2 separate regions of the Homo sapiens genome follow, and region 2 is linked to region 1. Evidence: promoter capture Hi-C in human tissues and cell types (Jung and others, 2019). All regions are on one chromosome and are shown on one strand. Each heading gives the region's core, a stretch centred on a gene start or on the middle of the fragment in contact. The rest is flanking DNA. Distances are from core to core; before and after follow the strand shown. Region 1 holds the start of HELZ2 (helicase with zinc finger 2). Region 2 overlaps DNAJC5 (DnaJ heat shock protein family (Hsp40) member C5).

Region 1 (6,210 bases), core at 603-3,102:
CTGGGATTACAGGCGTGAGCCAGTGCGCCTGGCCGAGAGCCAATCTTTCATCCCACCCCAGACTCCTGAGTGTGACTCTATTTCTGGACTCTCTGTTCTGCCTTGGAACTGTGTGTCCACACCGGGTTCAGTGGCTTTGCAGTGTGTTATGTGTTTAGTAAGTCATGCCAGCACCCGCTGGGAATCCTTTTTAGTCATCATCCTGGGCTGGGTGTTGGGATTCAAGCCTGTAATCTAATCCCGGCACTCAAGGAGGCCGAGGTGGGGGGTTTGCTTGAGCCCAGGAGTTCAAGAGCAGCCTGGGCAACATTGAGAAACCCCATCTCTGAAAAACATAGAAAAAACTCCAAAATAGTTAACTGTGGTGGTGTGCACCTGTACTGTGGTGGTGTGTGCCTGTAGTCCCAGCGACTCAGGAGGCTGAGGGGGGAAGACTGTCTGAGCCAGAGGTCGAGGCTGCAGTGAACTGTGATTGCATCACTGCACTCCCGCCGGGGCAATGGAAGGAGACTCAGTCTCAAAAAAAAAAAAAGCCCTGTCCAGCCTTTCTTGGTGATGTGATGCTTTTCCAAATGGACTTGAAAGTCAGTGTGTCCACCATGCGACTGCAGGTTAGTTTAGGAGGAACTCACGTCTTTGTGTGGTGTTGAGCCTCTCCATCCAGGAACACAGCGTTCCACACAAATTCTCCCAGCGTTCCACGCACATGGACCCTGCTCAGCGCCCGGCCCCTGGGGCTGCTATTGTCGAGGGCCTGCCCTCTCCCAGGAGCTCCAACGTGATTGGTCTGCGGAGAGGCTCCCTGGTGGTTGACGGCCCACCCAGCCGACCTCCCGAGGTCGCTGTGAGCCCCCAGCCTGGCCCTCCCCACGAGGTGCTGGCCTTGGGTGGCAGCCTTGCTTCCTTGTTTCAGGGGCAGCATCACTGTCCGTTATCTACTGCTGCAGAACAGATCGCCCCAAAGCTCAGGGGCTTAAAACAACACAGATGTTTATTTTATTTATTTATTTGTTTTGAGATGGAGTCTTGCTCTGTTGCCCAGGCTGGAGTGCAGTGGCGCAATCTTGGCGCACTGCAACCTCCACTTCCTTGGTTCAAGCAATGCTTCTGCCTCAGCCTCCCGAGTAACTGGGACTACAGGCGCCCGCCCCCACCCCTGGCTAATGGGACGTTTATTTTAAACATAGACATCTAACAGCTGGGCGTGGTCTAGGTGGGAGGGTTAGGCCTGGGGTCTCCCTGAGATGGCAGTAAGGCTGGGGCTGGGACTCGAGCTGCAAGTGGGCTGGAGGCCTCAGCTCCTCTATGGGGCCTCCCCACAGGGCTGCTGAGGGCCCAGAGCCAGTCCAGAGAGCCAAGAGCCAGGCGTGCTGACTCTGGGACCCGGCGGCCACTTAGCCATTCCTGCCATATCCTGGTTGGTGACAGAAGGGACTTGGGGTCCCAGCAGCACCAGGGCCACGGGCAGGTCCTGCCTGTCAGGGGACCCAGGCTTCCAGGTCAGCTGTGCCTGGATTTCTCCAGGGGCTGATGGTGGAGTCACCAGACCATCCTGCCGTCCAGGGCCGGGCAGGGTCTCACCCCTTCCGCCTGGCACATCATCGGGGCGTCTCTGGTGTGTGAAGGGCTGGACGGGGCGTGGGGCCCTGGAGGGGTGCGGGAAAGGACCCCCACCCCCAGCCGCCTCCGCCTTCGACGGCGCTGGCCCTTCAGGGAGGGGCGTCCTCTGCTCGCTGGCGCTTCCCGAGGTTCCCTCGCAGCGGGGGCCGAGCTGTCGCTGGAGGCGGGGCAGGGCGGGGCGGGGCGGGGGGCGGTGAGGTAATTTCCGCGATCAGCGTCAGTGCCCGGGCCAGAATCGAAACTGAGAGCTCCTGGGCAGGCTCGGCAGGGCAGGCAGCTCCAGGAGGGTGAGCGCGGGGGTCCCAGGGCGGAGGGGCGGGGGCGCGGGGGTCCAGGGGCGGCTCCAGGAGGGTGAGCGCGGGGGTCCCAGGGTGGCGGGGCCGGGGGCGGAGGGGGGGGTCCGGGAGGGTGAGTGCAGCCGGGGGCGCGGAGTCCCGGGAGCCACAGACCCAGCCCGGGGCAGTGCAGCCCGTCCAGGACCAGCACCCTCCGCAGCAAGACCCAGCGCTGTGGTCTCTGCACCCACTGGAGCGCAGGATTTTGGGGTCTCGGCTCCCGTCCTTTCTGGATGGCAGACTCGGATGTTTTCTCAGAGGGGTCCGCGGGGAGTGCCGGGTTCTCATACTGAAGTCTGCCTCCAGTCTGTTGCTTTTAAACTTACTCTTCTTGTAGCATCCCAGCTGCGGTGGGGACCCGGGGACCCATCTCTTCCTGGCACCCTGAGCTCTGGTGGGCACTGTACCCTCCTCTCCGTGAGGCCCCTCCCCAGGTGCAGATGTGGAGTCCTCTTTTCCTGGGGGCCAGTGGTCATTCAATAGAAAAGGAGGTGCTGTGTCCTTAGAAGAGTCAGGAGCCTGAGGCCCTGGGGTGCACAGGACCCCTGGCTGGGGCAGAGGGGTGCGGCCTCCTGGGGGCGGCACTGTGCCAAGGGCTCTGCCCCCTCCAGGGCTCCACAAGCAGTCACCTTGGCTCCTTCTAGGTGGGGCCTGAGACCCTTCAGGAGGGAGGGTCTGGCTGTGTCCGGGTCAGTGAGCCCTGTACTCCCTGACAGGACACAGCTACTGCCAAGGCCTCCACTTGGGCGTCAGGGTGGGGAGAGTCCCAACTCCTTGCTTGGTGGAGAGGCCTCTGCTTGGGCATCAGGATAGGCAGATCCCCAGCTCCTTGCCTGGTGGAGAGGCCGTGCTTCTGAGCTGGGCCTGGACCAGATGTCCTCTGGCCTCAGTCTCACCTGCTCCTTCTGTCGCAGGCTTCGAACCGTGGCCAACAGTTCCAGTGGACTGCGTGGACCCGTGAGCTCAGGAGCCTCAGACGCCTCCCTGGAGAGCCAAGCTGGTGTTCGAGGTGGCGCCTCCAGGGTCCACCCTGCTGCCCAACAGCCCCGCGGCCACCAGAGGGCCGTCCCTGGCCCGGCTGTGTGCCCTGGTGGACCTGTGTCTGGGCTGCTCCCGCTGCACCCAGCGGCTCAATGAAAGCACCTACGTCCTCCGTAGGGTGGAGCATGACTGCTCCCGCGAGATCCTGCTGGCCCGCTTTAAGCAGGCCACCAAGAGCAAGGTCTGGCGCGTGGTGGGCTGCCGGCCCACCTTCCCAAGGCCCCTGTGCTACCAAGTCTGCCACTACTACAGCCCTGGGCTCGGCTGCCGGCGCCACCGAAACCGGTGCACCTTTGCCCGCAGTCGCGAGGAGGCCCTGGTCTGGACCTTCGAGCGTCAGCACAACCTCCAGCGCCTATGGCTGAAGGCGGAGGTGCAGGGCAGCGGGGCCCAGGGAGGGGCAGGCCGGGCGGCCGACGCCATCCTTACGGAGTTTGGCGGCCGCTTCGAGCTGCTTTGCTCCCTCTGCTTCAGGCGCTGTCCCCCATGCATCTGTCGCGTGGACCCCCAGGGGCAGTGCCCTGAGCACGGAGCCTGCCCCTCCCTCCTGGCCCACGTGAGCGCCGAGGGCCGCCGCAAGCAACAGTTTGTGGTGGTGAGGCCGCGGCCCCGGGCCGGCCAGCCTCCTGCCTACTGCAGGTTTGTGGGGCGTGGGCAGCCGTGCTGGCGTGGGGAGTCCCGCTGCCAGTTTGCACACAGCGCCGTGGAGATGGCTGTGTGGGAGGCCGAGCAGCTGGGTGGCCTCCAGCGGGGGGACCTGCTCACACCCCCTGCCCCTGATGGCGACGGGCGCACGGCCCCCCTTGGCCAGCCCCCTGGGGCCCAGCTGTACTGCCCGGCCTGCTTGGTCACCTGCCACTCTCAGGAGGCCTTCGAGAACCACTGCGCATCCTCGGAGCACGCACAGATGGTGGCCTTCGACCAGGCCCTGCCCTGGGAGCACCGTTCCCCACCCCCGGGACTCTCCAAGTTCGAGCTCTGCCCAAAGTAAGGATACTCGAGGCAGGAGCTTGGAGTAGGGCAGGAGCCCACCATAGGCAGAACCAGAGGTTCCCAGGAGCTTGGAGTGGGGCAGGAGCCCACCACAGGCAGAGCCAGAGGCTCCCAGGAGCTTGGAGTAGGGCAGGAGCCCACCGTAGGCAGAGCCAGAGGCTCCCAGGAGCTTGGAGTAGCGCAGGAGCCCACCACAGGCAGAGCCAGAGGCTCCCAGGAGCTTGGAGCAGGGCAGGAGCCCACCGTAGGCAGAGCCAGAGGTTCCCAGGAGCTTGGAGTGGGGCAGGAGCCCACCGTAGGCAGAGCCAGAGGCTCCCAGGAGCTTGGAGCGGGGCAGGAGCCCACCACAGGCAGAGCCAGAGGCTCCCAGGAGCTTGGAGCGGGGCAGGAGCCCACCGTAGGCAGAGCCAGAGGTTCCCAGGAGCTTGGAGCGGGGCAGGAGCCCACTGTAGGCAGAGCCAGAGACTCCCAGGAGCTTGGAGCGGGGCAGGAGCCCACCACAGGCAGAGCCAGAGGCTCCCAGGAGCTTGGAGCAGGGCAGGAGCCCACCGTAGGCAGAGCCAGAGGTTCCCAGGAGCTTGGAGCAGGGCAGGAGCCCACCACAGGCAGAGCCAGAGGCTCCCAGGAGCTTGGAGCAGGGCAGGAGCCCACCGTAGGCAGAGCCAGAGGTTCCCAGGAGCTTGGAGCGGGGCAGGAGCCCACCGTAGGCAGAGCCAGAGGTTCCCAGGAGCTTGGAGCGGGGCAGGAGCCCACCACAGGCAGAGCCAGAGGCTCCCAGGAGCTTGGAGCGGGGCAGGAGCCCACCACAGGCAGAGCCAGAGGTTCCCAGGAGCTTGGAGCGGGGCAGGAGCCCACCACAGGCAGAGCCAGAGGCTCCCAGGAGCTTGGAGCGGGGCAGGAGCCCACCGTAGGCAGAGCCAGAGGTTCCCAGGAGCTTGGAGCGGGGCAGGAGCCCACCGTAGGCAGAGCCAGAGGCTCCCAGGTTCAGTGGACGGGGGCCTCCCTGCCACCTGCTGAGGGCTAAAGCCATGTGGCCTCTGAGGACCCGGATAAGGGAGGTTCATGTTTGGGAACTGCTTGAGCCAGGCCTTGTCCCGGGAGCACAGGAGTGGGTGGGACGAATAAAGCCCCTGCTCCCTACAGAGGCCAGTATTGGGCTGAGGGGTCCCGGCCTTTGAACTCAGCACGGCGGCTGTGCCTCTGTGTAGCCCTGCTGACCTCCCTGTCCCCCAGGCCTGACCTCTGTGAGTATGGGGACGCCTGCACCAAGGCACACTCAGCACAGGAGCTGCAGGAGTGGGTCCGGCGCACGCAGGCTGTGGAGCTGCGGGGGCAGGCGGCCTGGCAGGACGGGCTGGTGCCCTACCAGGAGCGGCTGCTGGCCGAGTACCAGCGCAGCAGCAGTGAGGTCCTTGTGGTAAGTGGGCCCTGGGAGTGGGTGGGGTGGGGTGGGGTCCAGGCCTCTTGCTGAAGGCTAGACTTCCACGCAGCTGGCAGAGACCCTTGATGGAGTGCGTGTCACCTGCAACCAGCCCCTGATGTACCAGGCCCAGGAGAGGAAGACCCAGTACAGCTGGACGTTTGCCGTCCACTCTGAGGTGAGCGGAGAACAGCTCCGACTGGGCGGAGGGAGCCCTGGGGAAGTGGTGACTTCAGCCCGGGCAGACGTCAACAGCCTGGGTCATGGAGCTAATACCGAGGCACTGCCGCTCAGCACCTGCGTGACCTGCAGCAGGTCCCTTAGCCTCTCTGCCTCAGTCTCCTCACCTAGAGACAGGGGGCCAGGACAGTCCCACCTTGGCAGGGTTATTCTATGGAGTATATGGGTTAAAACAAGGATTTGGCCAGGTGCGGTGGTTCACGCCTGTAATCCCAGCACTTTGGGAGACCGAGGCAGGTGGATCACCTGAGGTCGGGAGTTCGAGATCAGCCTGGCCAATAGGGTGAAACTCCGTCTCTACTGAAAAAAAAAAAAAAAAAAAAAAATTAGCCAGGCATGGTGGTGGGTGCCTGTGATCCCATCTACTCGGGAGGCTGAGGCAGGAAAATCACTTGAACCCAGGAGGCGGAGGTTGTAGTGAGTTGAGATCGCGCCATTGCACTCCAGCCTGGCGACAAGAGTGAAACTCCGTCTCAAAAACCAAAACAAAAACAAGGATTCACCAGGGTCTGGCACCTGGAGAGTGGGTGGTGAGGCCTCAAGCTGCCCACACTGCCCCAC
Region 2 (6,305 bases), core at 2,823-5,322, 350 kb before region 1:
ATGGAAAGGACAGGTGTGCTGGAAGGAATGTGGAGAACGACCTCAAGATGGGAGGGGGGAGACTGGCCCCATCAATCCAGCTCAGAGCCCGGGAAAAGTGCAGGAACACAGACAAATAACCCCAACACGGCGAAGGACACACCTCCGAGAACCAGAACGGCAGCGTCCACACGACGAGACGACCAGGCGAGAAACACCGCGGAGGACACGGTGTCAACCTCGGAAGGGGCCTCCTATGCTTTCCACACCAAATTCTCCCACGGGAGAAACCCTGCCACAAGGCCCAGGAAACCACAGACCCCCAAGCCAACCATGCCCAGCACAGACACCAAGGAATGACAGTGACGCCGGTGACGCCAGGAGGACGCGGCCCCGCCTCTCTTCTGGCAGGTGAGATCAGAGTCCTACTGCAGCCTCAAGGCTGGGAGCACAGAGTGTGGACCAGACCCCGAGGCCAAGACGGTAACACAGCTCTGCCAGGCAGCACCTGCCTCCGGCCCCTCAAGCACAGGTAGGAAAGGGGCAGCCCCCCTTCTCCTCGCCCACCTGACCGGCTGCAGTCACCCCTCACTGGACCAACCTGACCGACAGCCCTGAGGCAGCTCCACCGTGCAGTTCACGCGGTCATGCCGCGGAATGTCCACAACACAGACATGGAACAGAACCCCATACATGCTATTAAAAAAGGGAAAAAAACAGAAGACCGTAGCTACACTGCTTTAAATACTGCATGCTACGCACTTCGTGGGTCAAGGGTCGACGCTGGGTGGGCGTGGAGGCAGGAGGGGCCCCAGCAAGGCCAGGGCAGGCAGGAGGCTGCCTTCCCATCTCTGTGACTACAGTTCATGATTCTAAGGTTGGCGTGGCCAGGCGCCGGCTCCTCCTCTGACCACAGCTCCTCCTGGATTTAGTTGAACCCGTCAGTGTGGTAGCTGGGGTGGGAGTCGGCTGTGAGCTGGGTGGTCTCGGTGGCGGATGCCGGCTGTATGACGATCGGCGTGTCTGTGGCCTCTGAAAAGCAAGCACACAGGGCACTGCACGAGGGCCACAGCCTGGCGCGCACCCAACGCTGGTCCTGTGGAGCGACTTTCGGGCACCTGGACAAACTCTCCACCGGGAGAGGCTACTCGCTGACCTCCACCCCACACGGCTTTCCTCCGTCGCCTTGGGTCACCGCCAGCCCTCGGCCCTCAGCCCCGCCCCAACTGCCTGCCGCCCTGCCCCGCCTCGCAGTCCCTGGGATCTACGGCTACCGCAGGTCACGGCGGGGACAGCTCTATGCGCCTGCTTTACCTCAGGGTCCACGTTCACACCTCAACAGTCCCAGCTGCCACCACAAACACTCGCGGCACAGTGTCAGTGCCCTCCTGTTTGACAAGACAGGTTGACACCATTCAGGGCCCATTCTGGCTCTGCCCCACACACACACACGGGCCCTGGGGCGGGCACTCACCCCTCTCGTCAGACTGCAGCTGTGCCTCCAGATCCTCGGGGGACACGTAGAACTCCGTCTCCTCGCCTTCAGGCGCCTTGGGCTTACACTTCCCGCAGCAGCAGTTGAAGCAGCAGCACAGACAGCAGCAGCAGTAGCAGCACGTGAGGAGGCCGCAGAAGACAAACAGGGCCTGGGGGGAGAAGAAGGTGGTGTTGCATGGCCTCCGAGGCCCCTGGAGAGGGAGGCGCAGGACTCCCAAATGCCCTCAGCAGAAGGCAGGGGGTGCGTTCCAGGTGGGGATACTGCCTTCCAGACAGGAAGCAGAAGGAAAGAACTGAAGAAGGGAGGAGGAGAGACAGAAAGAAACCCGCAGCTTAAAGAAAAGCAGCCTCCAAGACGGGCGTGGTGGCCCATGCCTGTCATCCCAGCACTCCAGGAGGCCGAGGCTGGCGGATCACGAGGTCAGGAGATCGAGACCATCCTGGCTAACACGGTGAAACCCTGTCTCTACTAAAAATACAAAAAATTAGCTGGACGTGGTGGCGGGCACCTGTAGTCCCAGCCACTCGGGAGGCAGAGGCAGGAGAATGGCGTGAACCCGGGAGGTGGAGCTTGCAGTGAGCCAAGATCGCGCCACTGCACTCCAGCCTGGGAAACAGAGCGAGACTCCGTCTCAAAAAAAAAACAAAGCAGCCTCCAGGCTGGGCACAGTGGTTCACGCCTCAACTCCTGCAGTTCTGGAGCTGAAGTGGGAGGATCACTTGAACCCAGGAATTCAAAGTTAAAGTGAGCCAGGATCTCACCACAGCACTCCAGTCTGGGCAACAGAGCGAGACTCTGTCTAACATTAACTAAATAAAAAGTACTTTATAAGGATTCTAGTGAGGAGGCCGACCAGTCAAAGCCAAATACAGGCTTCTCACAAATGCCATGCAGTGATTCCAACCCTCTGGCCTCATATATGACATTTGGAACAAAACGAGGAAACGAAGAAATGCGGATGTAACATCGAGGCTTATTTCCTCCTGTCTCACGAAGGACTGGGAGCCATTTACAGAAGAAACCCTGGCGGCTCCGCACGGCTCTTCCCTGGGACAATCTGTACGCTATGGCTTGTTCCAGGCAGGACACCAAGCCAGTGACAGAGCTTCGCCCATCACACAGGTGAGGAGAAAGGCTCCATATGCCCAGAAGCCTTTTCTCAGGAGTGTAGAGTTGCTGGCATCAACGCATGGGCTCTGCAATGCTGGGAACCCTGCAGGCGTGGAGTGACCCGGGTGCCCACATGGCAGGAGAGACTCGGGTGCCCGCACGGCAGGAGTGACTCGGGCGCCCGCACGGCAGGAGTGACTCGGGTGCCCGCACGGCAGGAGAGACTCGGGTGCCCGCACGGCAGGAGAGACTCGGGTGCCCGCACGGCAGGAGTGACTCGGGTGCCCGCACGGCAGGAGAGACTCGGGTGCCCGCACGGCAGGAGTGACTCGGGTGCCCGCACGGCAGGCAGCTCGCCCTCACCTTGGCCCACCAGCTGGACAGCACGAAGTAGGTGTTCACGTTCTCTTCCCCAAACTGCTCGGCCACGTAGAGACCCAGCGAGCCGTACTTGTCGTAGATGTTCCTTTTTGTGGCGTCCGTGAGGATGGCGTGCGCGTTGTTGATCTCCTTAAACTTGTCCGCGGCCTCCGGGTTGTCGGGGTTCTTGTCGGGGTGATATTTCAAGGCAAGCTTCCTGCAAACCAAAACCATGTCCTGGCTCTACCCTGGACTTTGTTCCACCCGCACCCGCCGCCGCGTCCATCCCACCCGCACGCACTGCCGGGTGCAGTGGAAGGCAGGTCCACCCAGGCCACCTCACTGTCCGACTCTCCAGGGCTGCAGGGGCCAGGGACAAAAGCAAGCTCCGCGGTTGTTTCAGGTAAACCTCCTCACCCTGACCCAGCCTCAGAGGAGGGAGCCCCAAGGGCTGTGAGTGCCACGGCACATCTAAGTTCAGCGGCACCAAGGCCAGCCCTGGTGTCCCAGCCGCTAACTGCACAAGTGCCAAGTGAACGGTAAGCACGGCGGGGCGTAATGATGGCACTTTAAGAAGTGTTTTATGAACTACACGATGCTAGCACACGAGAGGAGGACTATCTGAATTGTCTGGATTAGTGATGGTGTCTCTTACAGGTTACTCAATGAAACTGTACCCAAGAGTGCAGTTCTTCAAGCTCAATCAGAAGGCCACAACAGAGTGAGGGGTCTCTGTCATCACTGTGCTAAAACAAGGAGACCACAGGACCATGCCAGCGCTCTGCGGCTCCTGTGAGGCCTCAAACAGGTTCAGACCCTGACTCCCTATGGAACTGTGGACAGTGTGTCAGTTTCTACTAAGTGCTATTTTTTGTTGGCAAGAGAACATGAATACCATAACTTTAAGCTATAAGGAGCACATTACACATACAAAGGTGTTACCGAGCTGTGACCAGTTCAACGCTGAGTCGGCCAGGATAAAGTATGTGCAATGGTTCTTGGTAAAATGCAGACTAAACCACACGGGGCATGTGTGTCTTCCTGGGGGGATGTGGGGGCCACACTTGTCCACTTACCGATAGGACTTTTTAATGTCATCTGAGGTTGCGTTCTTGTCCAACCCAAGGACGTGGTACAATGACTCCCCAGAGGTAGACAGTGAGCGCTGTCTCTGGTCTGCCATGTTAGGCTATTCTAGAAGAAAAAATAAAAAGAAAGTATCACAAAGTATAGATGAAAGTACCAAGGGCAGAGCTGATGGACTTTATTCCATAAGACCGTTCAAAGCAAAAGAATCCAACACTGCCTTGTGGAGTTTGCCACGTGCACAGACAGACGCCATGGCATGGAGAAGTGTGAGACGGCAGAATACGGCCACCCCAAGAGATCCTGAAGAACTGCAGCTGTGTACTGTGGGCCGGCACAGGGGCTCACACCTGTAGTCCCAGCATTTTGGGAGGCTGAGGCGGGAGGACCGCTTGAGCCCAGGAGTTTGAGGCTGCAGTGAGCTATGATCACTCCACTGCACTGGAGCCCAGGAGACAGGGACCCTGTTCCTTAAAAACAAATATATAAATAAACAAAATAAATTAATTAATTAAAATAAACATGCATATTGTAATCCTTACAGCAACCTCTGCATAAAAAATGCAAAGAGGTATAAGCTAAAAAGTTACAAGAAAAATGAAAAAGTAACTCAACACAGGAAACAAATAGAAAATTAGTTGGAAGATCTAAATCCAAACATATCAACAATTAAATTCAATGTTAGTGGACAAAAAACTCCAATTAAAGTAAGGGACTGACAGAATGGATAAAAATGCAAGACCCAACTTTAATTTTAATACTTTCTCAGAAATCGACAGAACAGACCAAAAATCAGGAAAAACATCGATGTTCTGAACAACACTATCAACCACCATGACCTGATCTTCACAGAACACCCAACATCTAGAGAACACACAGTTTCTTTCTTTCTTTTTTGGGGGGGGGGACAGTTTTGCTCTTGTTGCCCAGGCTGGAGTGCAATGGCACGATCTCGGCTCACCACAACCTCCGCCTCCCCGGTTCAAGCAATGCTCCTGCCTCAGCCTCACACAGGAGTAGCTGGGATTACAGGCATGTGCCACCACACCCAGCTAATTTTGGTATTTTTAGTAGAGATGGGGTTTCTCCATGTTGGCCAGGCTGGTCTTGAATTCCCGACCTCAGGCTGAACTCCCGACCTCAGGTGATCCGCCTGCCTCAGCCTCCCACAGTGCTGGGGTTATAGGTGTGAGCCACAGCGCCTGGCAAATACACATTGTTTCTACATTGTTTCTAACTAATCAACCACCATGACGTGACAGTCACAGAACACCCAACATCTAGAGAACACACATTGTTTTTAACTGAATGCTGTACACTAAGACAAGCCACATGTTAGGGCTTCAAGCTGGTTTCAATAAACGTAATGGAATGAGGTCACACACAGCACTATCCCTGACTTAGCTACAAACTGGAAACCCAGGAGGAAGATACTCTTGATATTCAACAACACACCTCCGGCTAACATGTAGCTCAAAGAAGAAATCCCAGGGGAACTTAGAAAATGTTTTGAATTGAATAATAAATACAGTGTACATGACGGTTAATTTCATGTCTCCTTTGCTGCATCGTGGGGCACCCAGATGAAACATGACTTCAGGGTGTGCCTGGGAGGGTGTTTCTTGGTAAGAGCAGCACCTGAGCTGGGGGCTCCATGAAGCCAACTGCGCTGCCCTGTGCAGGTGAGTGTCGTCCCAGTCCACGGGGGTCCCGAATAGAAAGGGGTGGGAGGAGGAGTTGGCCTGGGTTTTCCTTCTCGCCTGCCAGCCTGAGCGGGGCCACGTGTCTCCTCCTGTCCTTGGACTGTTATTATCCCACTGCTTTCCTCAATCTTCAGCAAATGGCAGAGCATGAGATTCCGTCTCCATAATGACGTGGGCCAATTCCTCATAACAAATCTCCTTTAGAAAGAGACACAGATAATGGCAACGTTCCTCTGCAGAATGCTGACTAGTACAACACGTTAATCAAGGCCTAAGGCTCCGCCTCAGGAAGCTACAAAGTAACAGGATAAACCCAACATAAATGCAAGCAAGGAAATCATAAGGAACAGAAATCCATGAAAACAAACAGATAACTTCAACAAAGCCAAAAGAGTTGGTTCTTTGAGCAACATGAGGAAAGACATCACTACAGATCCTAGAGGCGTGAAAAGGATAAAATACGAACAACTTCATGCCAAGAAATTAGAAAAATTAGATGAAATGGACAAATATCTTGAAAATTACAATTTACCAAGACTGACATGAAATAGAAAATCTGAATAGGCCTG

What was found. The method cuts DNA at HindIII sites, captures the fragments that hold promoters and counts their contacts. A contact is called where the count stands out against the background at its distance.
Region 2: a contact is called between a fragment that was not itself captured here and the fragment with the promoter of HELZ2 in region 1, in 1 of the 25 tissues and cell types used here (pancreas).

Annotation. Positions count from the first base shown.
Region 1 is chr20:63,569,881-63,576,090 of GRCh38, reverse strand. It overlaps HELZ2 (helicase with zinc finger 2), which reads left to right and starts at 1,852. Exons shown (of 20, transcript NM_001037335.2): 1 at 1,852-1,907; 2 at 2,870-3,983; 3 at 5,223-5,406; 4 at 5,480-5,587. The coding sequence starts at 3,706. RefSeq lists silencers at 233-418, 1,528-1,807, 2,448-2,507, 4,518-4,874 and an enhancer at 1,016-1,743. The HindIII fragment of the contact is 13,109 bases long and covers 1-6,210 here.
Region 2 is chr20:63,926,171-63,932,475 of GRCh38, reverse strand. It overlaps DNAJC5 (DnaJ heat shock protein family (Hsp40) member C5), which reads right to left. Exons shown (of 5, transcript NM_025219.3): 2 at 4,024-4,141; 3 at 2,951-3,164; 4 at 1,454-1,625; 5 at 1-1,011. The coding sequence starts at 4,130. The coding sequence ends at 908. Among named protein-coding and RNA genes, the nearest start is that of MIR941-5, 9.5 kb to the right of the region's middle. RefSeq lists an enhancer at 1-240. The HindIII fragment of the contact is 6,255 bases long and covers 945-6,305 here.